Linked DNA regions of Homo sapiens: region 2 is linked to region 1. Evidence: promoter capture Hi-C in 16 types of primary human blood cells and fetal thymus (Javierre and others, 2016). All regions are on one chromosome and are shown on one strand. The core of a region is centred on a gene start or on the middle of the fragment in contact, and the rest is flanking DNA. Distances in the headings are between cores, read along the strand shown. Region 1 holds the start of PCMT1 (protein-L-isoaspartate (D-aspartate) O-methyltransferase). Region 2 overlaps UST (uronyl 2-sulfotransferase).

Region 1 (4,808 bases), core at 1,259-3,758:
TCCAGCTTGGGAAACAAGAGCAAAACTCTGTCTCAAAAAAAAAAAATGTTGACATCTAAACATTCACCATGGCCAGGTGCGGTGGCTCACTCTTGTAATCCCAAAATTTTGGGAGCCTGAGTCCAACAAATTGCTTGAGTCCAGGAGTTCAAGACCAGCCTGGGCAACATAGCAAGACCCCATCTCATAAACTACCAAAAAAAAAAAAAAAACCCTAAAAATTAGCCTGGTATGGTGGCACCACTGTACTCAGGAGGCTGAAGTGGGAAAATCGCTTGAGCACAGAAAGCAGGGGTTGCAGTGAGCCGAGCTCACACCACTGCACTCCAACCTGGGTGACAGTGAAACCCTGTCTAAAAAAAAAAAATAATCAACATTCTCTCTTACCAAACACTAAAGACTCAGTTTCCACATTAAGTATTGTCCCCCCACCAAAAAAAAATCCAAAATGACTAATATATCAAGTACCGGCCTGGCGCGGTGGCTCACGCCTATAATCCCAGCACTTTGGGAGGCCGAGGTGGGCAGATCATGAAGTCAGGAGTTCGACATCAGCCTGGCCAACATAGTGAAACCCCTTCTCTACTAAAAATACAAAAATTAGCCAGGCGTGCTGGCAGGCGCCTGTAGTCCCAGCCACTCAGGAGGCTGAGACAGGACAATTGTTTGAACCTGGGAGGCGGAGGTTGCAGTGAGCTAAGACCGCGCCATTGCACTCCAGTCTGGGCTACAGAGGGAGTCTCTGTCTCAAAAAAAAAAAAAAAAAAAAAAAGTACCAACCATGTGCCAAACAGTACTCCTAATTTCTCTCAATTACCTTTGTCTGTCTAGCACAGATTTAGGCATATAACGGACATTTAATGGGCATTTATGAAAAAAAGGGATGACTGTTAAATTCTTAGAGAAAATTCAAAAAAAAATTTTTTTTTTGAGGCGGAGTTTCCTCCCTTGTTGCCCAGGCTGGAGTGCAGTGGCAAGATCTTGGCTCACTGCAACCTCCCCGTCCCGGGTTCACGCGATTCTCCTGCCTCAGCCTCACAAGTAGCTGGGATTACAGGCAGGCACCACCACGCCCGGCTAATTTTTGTATTTTTAGTAGAGATGGGGTTTCACCATGTCGGCCTGGCTGGTCTCGAACTCCTGAACTCAGGTAATCCACCCGCCTCGGCCTCCCAAAGTGCTGGCATTACAGGCGTGAGCCAATGAGCCCGGCCAAAAAAAATTTTTTTTAATGGTGCCAGCCGTTAAGGAAATTACAAATCGAGTTGAGAAATAAGACAAACACATGAAAAGCTAAGTAACACAGGACAATTAAAAATACCATGTGACAAGATATGATTACTGCATAGTAGCGAATAATGCTATAAATTCTGACCAGTGAGTTTATTATAGACTGCGGCCCTTGTAGTCTCCCAACAAAACGGGGACGCTATATTTCGATTTAAAAAAAGAAAGTGACACAGCACTCATCCTATCCTAAAATTATCATCAGAAGAAGGAATACAGTAACTAAGGAGAGTGATATAAAGAAACTCCACATAAGGTTTTTAAAGCCTATGGTAGCCCTGAAAAAAGTTAGAACATCAGACACACAACCCTCTGCTGATCCAGGACCTGCAAAGGCTCCTGAAATACAAGTCTCTCAGGAACAGCATCCCCTGTTCTTTCTCCGCCCCGCACGGAGCTTTCCACTGGACAGCCGCCCGAGAAATTTCTCCCAGCATCTGCAATGGCAATACTCTCATCTTCCTCCCCTCGCCTGTATCAGACGGTGGCATCTCCCTCCAGGGGAAAAAACGGAGGGCGGGGGAGGCTGCATAAGAGGGAAAGCTTGCAGCGAGGTTGATTATGGAGGAGGAAGGTGAGAAAAATGCAGGGGACGAGGGTGGGGTCTCCTGAGCGCCAGCCCACTCTCCATAAGGCCTAGCCCACACGCTCCCACCCCGAAGGCACGCCCCTCACAAGCCGGACCCGGACGCGGACCTGAGTGACAGCAGCATCACCTGTACTGCACTCCCTCCCCCAGGGCCTGCAGGGAGACGACTGCCCCTGCCCCCACCAGCAGCGGCCCCTGGCTCTTTCTCTCCCCTTCCAGTCCACGTCGTCGACGAGTGACAGGTCCCGAGGGAGGCGACTGCAAGCGCACGCCGTTCGGGACTACCGGGGCAACTCTGCGCCGAAGCCCTCCAACAGGCGCGCGGGGACAGACAGAACGTTCCGGACGGCCCAGGGGGACCCGGTCCAGGCCCAGCCTGCCCCAGCTGCCCTACAACGGGCGGAGGTGGCACTTACTGCGGAGATTGTGGATTAGCTCCGAGTGGCTGGCGCCGCCGGATTTCCAGGCCATCGCTAAGCACACTCGGAGCAGGTACAGAACCACCTTCAGCGCGACGACGGTGCCCAGCAGTTTTCCCAAGAGTGAGACCACCTCCCACACCGTCACCGCCCCGCTCGCGTCCCCGCTGTAGCTGCCGCTGTTACTGCCGTCGCCGCCGCTGCCGCCACTGCGCGCTCCCGGCATCCCCCGCGGCACGCATGCGCTCTGTGACGCCGCGCGGCTTAGGGTGCGGCCGGGTGGGGCCGAGGGCGGGGGAGGCGTGTGGCCCAGCCGCCCGCCCCTGTGGCTGCTACCGCTGCCAGGGGACTGCAGGGAGGCCGGGCTGAGTCAGCGCCACTTCCGCTGCTGCGTGTCCCTTTCTGAGGCCTCGGACCGCACCGCTTTCGCCCTGCGGCCCGGCTCGGTAGCCTGATCAGTCGCGTTCCCGGCTGTGTCTCCGGTCACCGAGCGGGACGGCGGGATGGCGGGGTCGATCTGTGCAGACGCTGCTAGTGGTTCCGCAGTCGTCGCTGGGTCAGCTGTTTCGAGCGGCGGATCTGCTCCTATAGATGTCCAGATTGTTAGACGGTGGGCTTCATCCGTCCTACCTCGCCCAACCCAGTTGACTAATATTTGGGTCGGTGGAGCCCGAATAATACAATAAGAATAAAACCCAACGACAAAGGCCCTCTCTAACCCGAGTACACCGGCCTCTGGCTTTGTGACAAGCACGTCACTGTTAGGCTAAGCAGAGACTTTGGAACCCCGGTTCTAAAGCTCTCAGAGTGGAAGAGTACCAGGACATGGGGGTGGGGGTTGGGGCAAAGCTTTGCTCCCTTAGAATAATACCAACGTACAGAGTTGCGATTGGTTAAAAAATACCACTGTGTCCTTTGGTGAACGTGTTATTCTCCCGACGTAAGTGTGCATTTCCACCTAATTAAGCCTCACAAATTCCACCGTGGCTTTATTGCTCTCAGCTCTGCAAGACCATGAGTGAGAAGCTCACTGAGAACATTGCTTGTCGCGTCCAAATCGCTGACTCCTAATTAGACCTGAGACTGACAGAATCCAGCCATCATCTAGTCCAGTAACTTTTTTTTTTTTTTTTTTTTTTTTTTTTGAGACGGAGTCTCGCTCTGTCGCCCAGACTGGAGTGCAGTGGCGCGATCTCGGCTCACTGCAAGCTCCGCCTCCCAGGTTCAGGCCATTCTCCTGCCTCAGCCTCCCGAGTAGCTGGGACTACAGGCACCCGCCACCACGCCCGGCTAATTTTTTGTATTTTTAGTAGAGACAGGGTTTCACCGTGTTAGCCAGGATGGTCTCGATCTCCTGACCTTATGATCCGCCCGCCTCGGCCTCCCAAAGTGCTGGGATTACAGGCATGAGCCACAGCGCCCGGCCTCCAGTAATCTTTTAGAAGGAAACAAAGCTAAGACATCTGTGCCACTATATCAGCACAATTTTCAAATTCTAGTTCTTATCCGATTTTGTAAAATGTGACACTGGCCTGCTTCCAATCCAAAATCAACATTACCTATTTTCTGGGATTATGTGACCATAAATGAAACTACAGGCAAAACTGGTTTCTTTTTGTTTTTTTGCTTTTGATTGAGACGGAGTCTCACTCTGTAGCCCAGGCTGGAATGCAGTGGCATGATCTTGGCTCATTGCAACCTCCACCTCCCAGGTCCCGGTTCAAGCAATTCTGCCGCAGCCTCCCGAGTAGCTGGAATTACAGGCACGCACCACCATGCCCAGCTAATATTTTTGTATTTTTAGTAGAGACAGGGTTTCACCATGTTGACCAGGCTGGTCTTGAACTCCTGACCTCGTGATCTGCCTGCCTTGGCCTCCCAAAGTGCTGGGATTACAGGCGTGAGCCACCGTGCCTGGCCAAAACAGTGTTCTTTACTTCAATATTAAACATGAATAAAATTGTTGATTTGGGACTGTAACCCACTTAATATTTTCCATTTCATCTTTCTACAGTTTCTTGATGATCTTCCATTTGGAGAAAAGAAAAAAGTCAAATCCTTGATAGGAAACTGGTAACTCTAAAGCTGACCCAGATGGATTGCATTTACATGCAGTGCTTCCGTAAACTGTCCCTGTGAAGTAGGACTACCAATATCACATAAAAACAACAGTAGCATAATGGCCCTTTTTAAAGAAATAACCAACATACAGTTATGAATACCTATAGTGTAAAAGAGCTTCATTTTTTAGTTGAATAAGTCATATCTCTTGTATTCAGTAGGATTTACATTCTAATGGGGGAGGAATATGCATCTAAAGAAAACTAACATAAGATATATCCAAAATATATGTCATTAGTGGTCTAGATATCAAATGCTAGCTCACGCCTGTAATCCCAGCACTTTGGGAGGACAAGGCAGTTGGATCACCTGAGGTCAAGAGTTCGAGACCAGCCTGGCCAATATGGTGAAATCCCGTCTCTCCAAAAAAAAAAAAAAAAAATTAGCCAGGC
Region 2 (4,808 bases), core at 869-3,368, 730 kb after region 1:
GTCTGGATGCTAGGTGGCGCTATTGAACCAGAACAGCTCGGTTATTTGCCAAGTCAAGGGTTTATAGAGGGATGCTCATATGACTGTTCCTATTACACATATTCACATGTTCCTTGTCTTTCATGTGCTTATTTATTTTGGCCCTTACCACCACTGAGATTTTAGCTCCTAAAAATTATGACTAGAAAAATACTGATGGCTCACAGCATGTCTTTAAGAGTTAAGGAGAAAAAGTGTTCAGAAATACATTAATATTCACTGCTCAGAAATATGTGAGTCTTGCCCCTTACTTACACATTTTTGTGGATGACTATGGATCATTCTCTCAACTTCTCTGGGCTGGCTTCAGTTTCTCATTTTTACTTTTATTTTATTTTTGAAACAAGGTCTTGCTCTGTCACCTAGGCTAGAGTGCAATGGGTGCGATCATCATAGCTCACTGCAGCCTCGACCTCCCCAAGGCTCAGGTGATCCTCCCACTTCAGCCTGCCCAGTAGCTGGGACCACAGGCACATGCCATCAGGCCTGTTTTTTTTTTTTTTTTTTTTAGATGGAGTCTCACACTGTCACCTAGGCTGGAGTGCAGTGGTGCAATCTCTGCTCACTGCAACCTCTGCCTCCCAGGTTCAAGCAATTCTCCTGTCTCAGCCTCCAGAGTAGCTGGGATTACAGGCACCTGCCACCATGCCCAGTTGATTTTTTGTATTTTTAGTAGAGATGGGGTTTCACTATGTTGGCCAGGCTGGTCTTGAACTCCTGACCTCGTGATCCACCCACCTTGGCCTCCCAAAGTGCTGGGATTACAGGTGTGAGCCACCACGCCTGGACTTTTTTTTTTGTATTTTTAGTAGAGACGAGCTTTTGCTATGTTGCTCAGGCTAGTCTCAAACTCCTAGCCTCAAGTGATCTGTCTGCCTTGGCTTCCCAAAATGGTAGGATTACAGGTGCAAGTCACTATACCTGGCCTCAGTTTCTCATTTTTAAAAGGTGATAAGTAATAAACAAACATAATAAGGATTAATCAATAAAAAATAATTATGTATAAGATGACATATGTGATCATATGTAATAATTATGTATATGTTCAACCAGTGAGGTTGCTTCTACCGAGTAAACCTGCTGGGGCCTTGGTGCTCCCTAATTCAAACTCATGGTCAGGATTGAGCAGTGTTTTCTGAATGCCCACTCCACAGTACTTGTCCTAATATCAGCAGCTGCGCACCGGCTGGAAGAAATACCAAGCATATTCTCTTGGTTATCCATCTTGCTAAAACTCTAATTTTTATTTCATCTCAAGTACTTACTATCCTAAGCTTCTGAGATACTCTATTCTGTCTCCATAAAATGCAAATATTAACATAAAATGACTGTTTAAAAAAAGTTCTAAAGGCTAAGTTTCTCCAATATTTTTGGTAGGAGACAAATTTACTTGATGTCAGCATATATTTCTACAAGAAAGGAACAGAAGAAAAGACAGTTACGCTGTTATTGAGAAAGGTTATTAACCTGTCTAAATGGTGAGTTATTGGGACAGGTAGTATTGATTTGAAAGAATCAATGAATATCATTTCAATCTGAAATAAGTGACAACCCATATGACTAACAGACATTACGATTTTTACTAGCTCTCCAAAGAGTCATTGCTATTAGTGTTTTTTCTTCTGTAATGAGACTGGTATACATATTTTTAGTATTGCTAGAGAGGAGTTACCAGAAGTCAGCAAACTCCTATTTTTTTTTTTGTTTTTGTTTTTCAATAACAGGACAAACACCAAAGAAAAATGGCCAGTGGTGTTTTTGCATCTTAATTCAGCTCTTCAGATGGTTAGTTAATCTACAATGAGTTAAGGGTCACTAGATCCCTTAAATCAGTATCTTAGATTTTAGCTTTTCTTCTCTCTGTTCTCTAATCTACTCAGTTATCAAACTCTTCAATAAAGGGAAAGAGTAATGATTTTAGTATGCCCTAAGACATGAACTTAGACTAAAAATACAAAGATGAGATGGTGAAGTAACTAGAAACTTGCAGCTATTCTTTCTTTAACCTACTTGACACCAACTCAGTTGTGGTGATGAGAAAACAATATGGGTGCTAAGTCTTCCCTGAGGCTAAAATATATTGAGAAACTGGCCAGGAGTGTGTGTTGATCTCTTGTCCTCTGCCTCAGGGGACACGGAAACTTGTTGGGATAGAGGAACTGTGGACTAGCTTGGTCTTCAATGTTACCATAGAAACATATCACAAGAAGATGCCCAAGAGAACACAAAACACAGTAGAAGTTACTGAAGCAACAACTCAAAGGTTCATTTTATTGGGCATATAATGTGTGGCAGCTGAGAGAGTTATGCTAGGGTGATATTTAAAGTATTTGACAACCAGCTCCACTCAAGAACTGAACTCAGAACAGTCACTGAGTGTGACACTGGCCCGGGGTCCTGAAGATCCCTCTTGTGCCATGAATTAGTCCTTCCGTTACATCACTGTTGGAAAAGGCGGGGGTAACAAGGACGGGCAGCCAGGCTGGCAGGTGCACCCTGAAGGCCGTATAGAAGTGTTTCACTGTTTTAACCGCTAGTCCAGCTGGACCACGTGGACTGGCCAAGTGGCCTGGCTTATGGAAACCTTTCATCCCACTACACAGGAAAACCAGATGTCCTTTATTCTCTTTGAGATATTTACTATGCCAAACTCTGAGGGAAAAATAATCTTTAATTTATAGGTGGAAAGATCATGGCTGAAGGTAAAAGAGTTAATAGTAACTTGGTTTTCAGAAATCTTTTCTCCTTGAATTAACGAACTTTCAGATCACGGAATAAAGGCCCATAATTTCTGAGAAGACACATATTTAAATGGAGAAAATAGGAAGTCAATATGATATACCACGACAAGAGCCACTAAGTGGGTCCTCTGGGCTAAGCTTTTTATAGGTGGTTTATCTGTATTCAAAAGCATGAAGATAAAAATACCCTCATCTAGGTTCTCAGGTCCACAACCCCTGTGCTGGGTTTTGCATCCTGTGAATGGTGTGTGTTCCAGACCTCAGGATGGATGGTGATGTAACTGGAAGAGGACTCTCACGTTGGCTCCTCCTCCCAAATGCTGGGACAAGAGAGTGCTCATTAAAATAAACAATATTAATAAAATAAAAACACATACATTTATTTCGTACACTGGCTCTGAGGGTCAGAAATTCAGGGGTAGCTTAGTTGGGTGGTCCTGGCTTGGGATCTCTCATGAGACAGCCATTAACATGTTGGTTGGGGCTGCAGTTATCTGAAGGCTTGACTGGGGTCATAGTAGCTGCTCCCAAGATGGCTCACACACGTGGCTCTTGGTCTGAGGTCTCAGTTCCTCACTATGTGAACCTCTCTTCATCCATAGCAGCTGATCTCTCTCAGAGCAAATGACTGAGCAGACAGTAACAAAGTTGGAAGCCATAATATCTTTTATGGAGAGTGTTCATCTTATGTGTCACCAGGATTTAGTTTGCCCTTTATCTCAGACTGTGTATTAGACACACACACACCACACACCACACCACACCACACACACACACACACACACACACACACACACACACACACACACACACCATAGAACAAGATAAAGCCAAAAGGAGAAAATGATTAACATAAACCTTTCTTCTTCAAAGGAGTCTAATTTAGGATAAGACCTCTCCTTGCACAAAGAACGGAGTTTATGTTGTCTTCTAGAAATAAAAATCAGTCACATCAAACTCTTTACATTAAAATTCTATAAACTCTTTAAATGGCTTGTTGTTGAAAAGACAAAGGAAATCCTAGTTTCACAACCCCACTCAGGTAAATGGGATTTGAACTCTAATGAGAGCTGGGAGGCTAAGGCAGCCTCCACCAACTATCCACCTTCCTTCAGCAAGTCCCTGATGGTGGTAGGGCCACCTTGACCTTGTGCAACGGGATCCAGGGCTCTCTGGGCAAAGACCAGTTTCCCTGGGCCTTGGGACCTACCAGTGATGCAGGTGGGGTTCGGGAACCCTGTGGAATGTGAGGCAGCAGACTGCATTTGGGGAGCTTTCATCTGCTGCTTCCTTCTTTCTTTCTTTCTTTTTTTTGAGATGAAGTTTCGCTCTTGTCGCCTAGGCTGGAGTGCAGTGGCGCGATCTTGGCTCACTGCAACCTCCACCTCCCAGGTTCAAGCGATTCTCCTGCCTCAGCCTCCCGAGTAGCTGGAATTACAGGCTCCCACCAACACACCTGGCTAATTGTTGTATTTTTAGTAGAGACAGGGTTTCTCCGTGTTGGCCAGGCTGGTCTCGAACTCCTGACGTCAGGTGATCCACCTGCCTCGGCCTCCCAAAATGCTGGGATTATAGGCATGAGCCACCGCACCGGGCCTATCTGCTGCTTATTTCTACAGGGCAGAATGCCTTCTTCCATCTCAGGACAACAAAACAGAACAATAAACAGATCACTGAATGTGTATTCAAGGCTTGTTGTCACAGCAGTAGATTAAGGAGAATAGGAAAAAACAAACAACGTTGTTTGTCTTTCTCTTTGGATAAAATGACAATGAAAAAATAAATGATGGATTTCTGAAAGTAATTATACTTACGATGATACCACAGGCAGCCCTTGTAATTGCTTTGCCACATTCTATTTCTTGCTGCTATTTGGGGACCACTCGGTTTGTTAGGATAAAATCATAATTGTATTTTCAATTTGCTGCTCTATCTATTCCACTGTCAGGATTTGATACACTAGAGTGCTTTTATCAAATGGAAGTTGGGCCAGAGAGAATTCATCACAAGGATGGCTCTTTCATACTC

Evidence for each region. Contacts are between HindIII fragments. The CHiCAGO score rates a contact against its expected background, and 5 or more counts as called.
Region 2: a contact is called between a fragment that was not itself captured here and the fragment with the promoter of PCMT1 in region 1, in 1 of 17 cell types (activated CD4 T cells). The highest score is 6.9, in activated CD4 T cells.

The regions. Positions count from the first base shown.
Region 1 is chr6:149,747,441-149,752,248 of GRCh38, reverse strand. PCMT1 (protein-L-isoaspartate (D-aspartate) O-methyltransferase) reads right to left here and starts at 2,508. Exons shown (of 8, transcript NM_001360452.2): 1 at 2,293-2,508. The coding sequence starts at 2,347. It also overlaps a transcript of NUP43 not described here. RefSeq lists enhancers at 572-1,074, 1,075-1,577, 2,543-3,508 and silencers at 1,682-1,976, 1,902-2,138, 2,369-2,758. The HindIII fragment of the contact is 1,314 bases long and covers 1,833-3,146 here.
Region 2 is chr6:149,021,887-149,026,694 of GRCh38, reverse strand. All of the region lies in intron 7 of UST (uronyl 2-sulfotransferase), which reads right to left. Among named protein-coding and RNA genes, the nearest start is that of UST-AS2, 8.4 kb to the left of the region's middle. The HindIII fragment of the contact is 1,605 bases long and covers 1,316-2,920 here.